Linked DNA regions of Homo sapiens: region 2 is linked to region 1. The links are contacts of gene promoters, found by promoter capture Hi-C in blood cells and fetal thymus (Javierre and others, 2016). All regions are on one chromosome and are shown on one strand. Each heading gives the region's core, a stretch centred on a gene start or on the middle of the fragment in contact. The rest is flanking DNA. Distances are from core to core; before and after follow the strand shown. Region 1 overlaps MCOLN2 (mucolipin TRP cation channel 2). Region 2 holds the start of DNASE2B (deoxyribonuclease 2 beta).

The links. The method cuts DNA at HindIII sites, captures the fragments that hold promoters and counts their contacts. A CHiCAGO score of 5 or more calls a contact.
Region 2: a contact is called between the fragment with the promoter of DNASE2B here and a fragment that was not itself captured in region 1, in 1 of 17 cell types (M2 macrophages). The highest score is 6.9, in M2 macrophages.

The regions. Positions count from the first base shown.
Region 1 is chr1:84,932,027-84,935,494 of GRCh38, forward strand. The region is part of intron 11 of MCOLN2 (mucolipin TRP cation channel 2); the gene reads right to left. Among named protein-coding and RNA genes, the nearest start is that of LPAR3, 41 kb to the left of the region's middle. The HindIII fragment of the contact is 4,456 bases long and covers 1-3,468 here.
Region 2 is chr1:84,396,743-84,400,466 of GRCh38, forward strand. It overlaps DNASE2B (deoxyribonuclease 2 beta), which reads left to right and starts at 1,742. Exons shown (of 6, transcript NM_021233.3): 1 at 1,742-1,947. The coding sequence starts at 1,823. The HindIII fragment of the contact is 1,924 bases long and covers 606-2,529 here.

The DNA of each region.
Region 1 (3,468 bases), core at 926-3,425:
AAAACACACACACACACACACACACACCCCTCCATACTCTCAAAGTTAATCTCTTAACAATTCCCACAGTTTTTCCCTATGTACTTTTTATATATCTAAAACCAGGATCTAACAAGTTTAGATCCTGGTTTTTCTCCTAATTAACATAAGCATCTTCTTATGTTTTCTACACTTAGAGAGCATTTGTAGGTTTTGTTTGTTTGTTTGAGACAGAGTCTTACTCTGCCACCCAGGCTGGAGTGCAGTGCAATCCCAGCTCACTGCAACCTCTGCCTCCAGTGTTCAAGCGATTCTCATGTGTCGGCCTCCCAAATAGATGGGATTACAGGTGCCTGCCACCAAGCCCGGCTAATTTTTGTATTTTTTTGTAGAGATGGGGTTTCACCATGTTGGCCAGGCTGGTCTCGAACTCCTGGCCTCAGGTGATCCGCCCACCTCAGCCTCCCAAAGTGCTTGGATTACAGGCATGAGCCACTGTGCTCAGCTGGCATTTGTTATATAACAGACCATTCCTTGAAAATGCCAACAAAACAAAACTTTTCACCACCCTAACCAGAAAAATGAACTTTTTTTTCTAAATTGCCCTATTTCTGTCAGTGATTCCAATCTCCTACCAAAGAAACATTTACTCTGAAATAATTAAGTCCTTAAAACTCTGTGTTGAATTGATTACTCTTCCCCGCTTTCAGTCTTCTAAGGCCTGTCTGTTCCTATCACATGTTTCTCCAATCCACCCTTACTACTCTACTGTGATGTCAACACAAATTTCTGAATTATTAAAGAAACTTCCAAGGAAGTCTCTTTTACTCCAATCTCTTTACCCTCCCCAGTCAAAGCTGCAGTAAAACCTGTACTTTAAGAAGAAGGCTTTCAGGTCATTTCTCCCTTGTGAGATTATACAAAGTTTGGATGCAAAATAAAAATCTAAACCAAGAAGGTTGTGATAAGTTCCTCCTTTATGCAGCCTCATCACATCTCCTCCTTGACAGTATTAATATGCTGTGCTTATCTTCTCCTCCAACACCAGGCCCATCCCTACATTTTTCCCTCATGGAATTTATTCTCCTCACCTGCTCTATTCTTCTTTCTCTTCTCTGTGTCCAATTAAGCCAATGTTCAAGGGTCATTTCAGAGTGTACTTCAAGACCAAGTGCCCTGGTAGTTCTAGTCCTTTCTCTGCACTCCGTATCGGTAAGAATCACAGAATGAACTATGGTCTTCTAATTGTTTTTATACACACTTCCCTGTACTCCAACTAGATACAAACACCGTGCCTTACACTACCAGCCACGTGGCTGGACCAGGCAAGGTAAAGTTGGTGGCCAAGGGAGAAGGTCTACAAACGCACCCCAAACAAGGATCCCACCCATGGCTTTGCTGCATCAGCAAAAACTCTGATGAACTAAAGTCCTCCTCCAAAAAGACCTAGAGGAAATATCCAAATGAACAGATCACTTAACAATATGTAGATTATTTAACAGTAAAACAGGCGATTGCCAGAGTAAATATTTTCCATACGCTACACAAGCCTTAAAACATTGAAGTTAAAGCTGAAAACATTGACATTAAAGTTGGTTTCTATGGATGTCAACTACAACTCTGACAGCACCATTAATAATTCACATTTCTTAGTTTCTTTTGGAATCCAGTCAACTCCTTTCTCTAGTTTCAAGAACCCCTAACTCCAAGCACAACTGTCTGTGCTTCAGGTTTCAACTGCAAATAGCTAGTTTGTCAGTACATGTCACATTCATTTTTTAATTTTCTGTTTAGTTACTTACCAGGCTACACACAATATCTGTCTCAACATTAACATTATTCATAACCATTTTACCTCCCCCTCCTCTTGTGAACATGAGAATTATTTTAACACACCAAAGAGTTAAAACAGAGACCCAGTCAATTTTAGGTGTTTGGTAACACCCTGCCATTTTGTACAAGAAGTGGCTGTGAACCAGAGTCTATTTCAGTGGCCAAATTCCATAGTAGAAGTGAGCTTAAAAATACTCAAGGTCCTAATGTGCTTCCAGTCTAGAAGGACCACATTTGTAAGGCATTCCTTTGGATCTTGAGTGATCATAAGCCCCTGGAAAGCAGGTACTACTCTCTCTCTGCTTCTTGTTTGTTCAAAACAAACTTTTTGGGCACCTACCATGGTCTATGTGCTGTGCTGGACACTGGGAATGTAAAGAGGAACAAACTACAGTTCCTTCCCTCCAAGAACTTGGTCTACAAGAACCTAGCAATGTTGGGTGCACAGTAGATATTTAATACGTATTAAATGGGTATTTCCATAAAGAGTCCCCATAGGTTCTCTGGGCCCACGATGAGAACTCAACCATTCATTTCACAAATGATAAGTTTGCAGTTGGGCCAAAAACCTTTAATTTCAATGAAACCATAACCTGCAATGGCTTATGTCAGAGAACAACATAAATATTTGCTTTAAGAGCTGGTGCCAAGAATCTCATGCAAACTTTAGGCAAAATGTTTTAGCTGAGGGGTACTTGGCTAAAACCAGAGGGCTTGGAAGGAGGAAAATGTAATGCAGAGTCTGCTGAACTTTGACCCATGGCATCAGTGAAGTCCAACAACTTTTCAAGTCTTGGTCTTCTCATTTGTAAAATGGGGACAATGCAAGGCTATGATTTATTCCTCACAGGAAAAAAAGTCCTCTGGAAATGTAAAAGCCGCATTAGAGTAATGTTTAATAATTCAAGATGAGGTCTGGAAGAACATCAACAGTCTCTCACCCTCTGTGCCCAGGCATTTTGAAAGGGCACTGTGCCAAAGTCCATTAGTGCTGGGAATACACATCAGCAGGAAGCCTTTTGCATCTTGACTCCCTTTCCATTGAGCCCCTGAAATCAGATGCCTAACAGGAAGATAGGAAGCTGAAGTGTTATGGGACCCCAGCTATCAGTCAAACGGTTTTCCTAATGTCTCCTTTTTAGTTGTTTTGTTTTAAAGAAAGAATTAGCTTTCACAATCAAGGTTGCTGTGATTCTAAAAATCCCACAAAAATGCCCGCTTGGAATGCCTAGCTTTTCAAGGCTTCAGGTAACCTGAAAGTCCTCTGATTCAGATACTGGCAGAACCTGAACATGCTGACAGCTTGGATTAATTTGGGGGAAAGGATGCAAGGGGCAATAAAATATTCTAACTTCAGATTCAAAGAGGCAGCAATATGGTGAAGAAAAGCACAAAGTTCCAAAACCAGACTGACGTTCTCTCCCCCAACTGACTTGTACATTCAGTGAATTAACTCAGCTGTGTATTTCCCCAATATATCAGCCTGGTGAGAGATGCCATAAACAGACCTGCAGGCAACCCTACAGACATCCCTTATCCCTCCCCTCCTCCAGGGGTATAAAGGAAAGCTAACATTAAGTGAAAGACATAAGTCTAGAGCTGCAATGTCCATAGTGGTAGTCACCAGGAATGTGTGAATAGCCAGCATCCAATAGA
Region 2 (3,724 bases), core at 492-2,991, 540 kb before region 1:
CATGGCTCACTGCAGCCTCCACTTCCTGGGCTCAAGCAATCCTCCCACCTCAGCCTCCTGAACAGCTGGGACTACAGGCATGTGCCACTATGCCCGACTAATTTTTTTTTTATTGTTTGTAGAGATACATTCTTGCTATGTTGCCCCGGCTGGTCTTGAACTCCCAGGCTCAAGCAATCCTCCTGCCTTAGCCTCCCAAAGTTTTGGGATTACAGGCATAAGCCACTGCGTCCAGCTGATAATTTTTAAAAAAACTTTTAAAAATTGACAAAAAGGTTGGGGTTGTTGAAATCCTTTTTTCTGAACACAGGAAGAAAATATATAAAACAAAATGAGAACAGGCACAGTGGTTCATGCCTGTAATCCCAGCACTTTGGGAGGCCGAGGTGGATGGATTCCCAGGCCGAGGTGGGTACACTCCAGCCTGGGCAACAAGAGCAAAACTTCATCTCAAAATAATAATAATAATAATACCAATGGAGGAATGGGTAAGAAAAATATTTCTTCATTTAACCTGCAGAAAGCTGTGAATCTACCAAATACAGCATAGTCTTGGCCTCAGGGCAGTGAGTTTCAAACTTTAGGGTACACCAGCATCACCAATAAGCTTATTAAAAATATAGATTCTTGAGCCCAACTGGAAGAATTCTGATGTAGCAGGTTTGGAATAAGTCCTAGAATTCTGCCTTTTTTGCAGGCACCACAGGTAATTGGGCAGGTGGTACAGAGTCCTCCTCCCAAAACTCTGTCTTAGGATAGAGACACAAGCCTTCCCCTTTTCTATGAATCCTGAGAATTGTGAACAGTTCTAGTGCAACCACAGAGGTAATCTGATTTACAAGGGTTCAGTTTGGTCTGGATCCTCTGATCTGGAACTATTATAGTTATCATTGTGATTATCAGAGAGACAGATTAGGGGCAGCATTATTTCCAGGCATGATGTAAACTGCTATTTATTATGATGGCAGCTTTAATAATTGATGCAAAAGTATGCATTAAAGAAATTATTTTCATATGTCTATCTACTCCTTCCCTGATTCACAAAGAAATTGGTCTCACCTTTTTATAGTTGTTATGGTAGTGGGCCATTTTATTTTGGTTTTCTACTTCAGATTCAGCTTCGAGAATGAGAAAGCATAGTTTGGGCAAAATAGATGTTTGTAACATTTTTTATTAACCTGAAGAGTGGGTGATCAATATGTTTACCTATTGCATAGCAGCCTGAAGCACCACATTGAGTGGCTAAAACCAGGAAGATGGAGAGAATATGTAAACATCTTTGGTAAAATACAGTTAAATTTACTGTTACTTTGAAGCAACCCTTTGAAGTATCCCTTAGCAACTGGTTCCTTAAGACAGAGATTATTAAGTGACAGATCCTAATTATTACTAAGACATAAGGTTTTATCATTTCTGTTTAATGTACGAACCACCTGCATTTGCTCTCATTCATTGAGTCAAACAGGAGAAGACATGAAATATATTTAACATCTACTTATTAAAATGAAGTCCCCCTGCCCAATGAATTTCATACAACAATGTTCACTCCAAAGAGTGAACTATCTTTCCCTATTTTTCTGCAGAACTTTTTGATGACTTTGCAAACCAGTCAACAATTCAGCACAAAGGCATCCAGAGTCACGCTGGCATGTTGTGACAGAATCGCACAATTACATGGGATCCATCCCACTCTGAAAATGCCCCGAACAGCGAACAGCACAGGTAAATCAAATCAAACGTCAGAGCCAGCACAGCCTGAGAGCGCCTTGAAACTCAGACTCCACAATCTATGGGGAAAGTGTCCTGCTGTGGCATGAAATAAATGAAACAGAAAATGATGGCAAGACTGCTAAGAACATCCTTTGCTTTGCTCTTCCTTGGCCTCTTTGGGGTGCTGGGGGCAGCAACAATTTCATGCAGAAATGAAGAAGGGAAAGCTGTGGACTGGTAGGTAAATGAAATGGAAGGACTGCTGCATGCAAACAGCCTCGGTACAGAGTTGGCCTGGCTCACTGCGAAGTTCCTAAGGGGAATGTCCATTCTCTTTCCTCCCTTTACAAATAAAGGAAGTTAAAGTGTGCAAATCGGCCAAACTCCCAGGCAGGGGTAGGCTTCTGAGTGACGGAGTTTCCCCCTGAAAAAGAGCTGAGCAGCCCCTCTTGGGCCTGATTCACTGTTCTCAGCGGGGCAAGGCTGGTAGCCACAGAAGTGGGATTGAGCTGACAGCTTCTGTGAGCTGGCAATTTCTTTTAATTACATCATGGCTTTTCCTAACAGAACACTTCCAACATCCTTTGAAAGACTGACAGAGTAAAGAAGGCAGATTATTTTTTTCTGAAAATGGAGCATGTGCTGCTCCTTATGAGAAAGAGAAGGGGGACCTGGTCACACACAGCACTGTTTGCCTAACATCGGTTTGTTTGGAAGCAGAGGCAGCTGTTGCCATGATTGGTACGTAGGCCACTGGCCTGTTGTACAGTGTCAAAGACATTAAATGCTGTGTTGCATTATAGTCATGGGTTCTCCTAAAGCTTTAACTACTTTTTCACCCTTTAATTGGGATATTTAGGTTTGCCATAATGGTTGGTGTCAAGCTTTTTGTGTAAACTTCAGGCTACAGAACACAGATATACTCAAGGCAGTAGTCAGTCTTTCCTCAGTTACTGAGCTCAACAGAGGTCTGTGTGGAGTTTTGAAAATATAAATATGAACGAAACATGGTTCCTACCCTCAAGGACCTCACAGTTATGTGGTAAGGGCATAGGTGGAACACTGGGGAACAGAGAGCCCAGAAAACTTCTCTAAGGATGTAATTTTTGAGCTAAGTTTTAAGAACAATTAAGAAGTAGCTGGAAAAAGAAGGGATGTGCAAGAGCATCTCAGGCCAATGAAGGAGCAATGAGGAGGTAGAGAGGCAAGAAGCAACATGGAAATTTGGGAGTTGCAAAGTAGTTTGGTATTGCTGGAACTTCAGGAGAATACAGGAAGATGACCGGAGGTGAGGTTAGAGAGGTGGGGACAGCCAAGGGGTCTGTGTGCTGAGCTACAAGGTTTGAACTTGACATTGAAAGGGAGCTATTGGAGGACTTCACGCAGGGGTGTGAATGGTCAGATTTGCACTTTAGGAAACCCATTGGCAGTACTATGAGGGCTGGATGGATGGGGAGCAGCCTAGAATCACTGAGACCAGGAGCACTTTTGCAGCATTACAGGTGAGAAGAGGTGTAGACCTGAGTTAAAGAAGCGGTCATGGAAATAGAAAGAAGGACATGCTGAGAAGACTTGGTGATGGATGGGCTGCAGCCAGTAGGAGAAAGGGAGATGTTAAGAAATAATTTTAGGTTGGCCAGGCGTGGTGGCTCACGCCTGTAAGCCCAGCACTTTAGGAGGCCTAGGCAGACAGATCACCTGAGGTCAGGAGTTCAAGACCAGCCTGACCAACATGGAGAAACCCCATCTTTACTAAAAATACAAAATTAGCCAGGCATGGTGACGCATGCCTGTAATCCCAGCTACATGGGAGGCTGAGGCAGGAGAATTGCTTGAACCCAGGAGGCGGAGGTTGTGGTGAACCAAGATCGTGCCATTGCACTCCAGCCTGAATAACAAGAATGAGACTCCGTCTCAAAAAAAAACAAAAAACAAAACAAGAAAGAAAAAGAAAGAAATAATTTTAGGCTTCTGCTTCTGAGACTGCATGAATATGTTCCCTAATAGTGTGGGA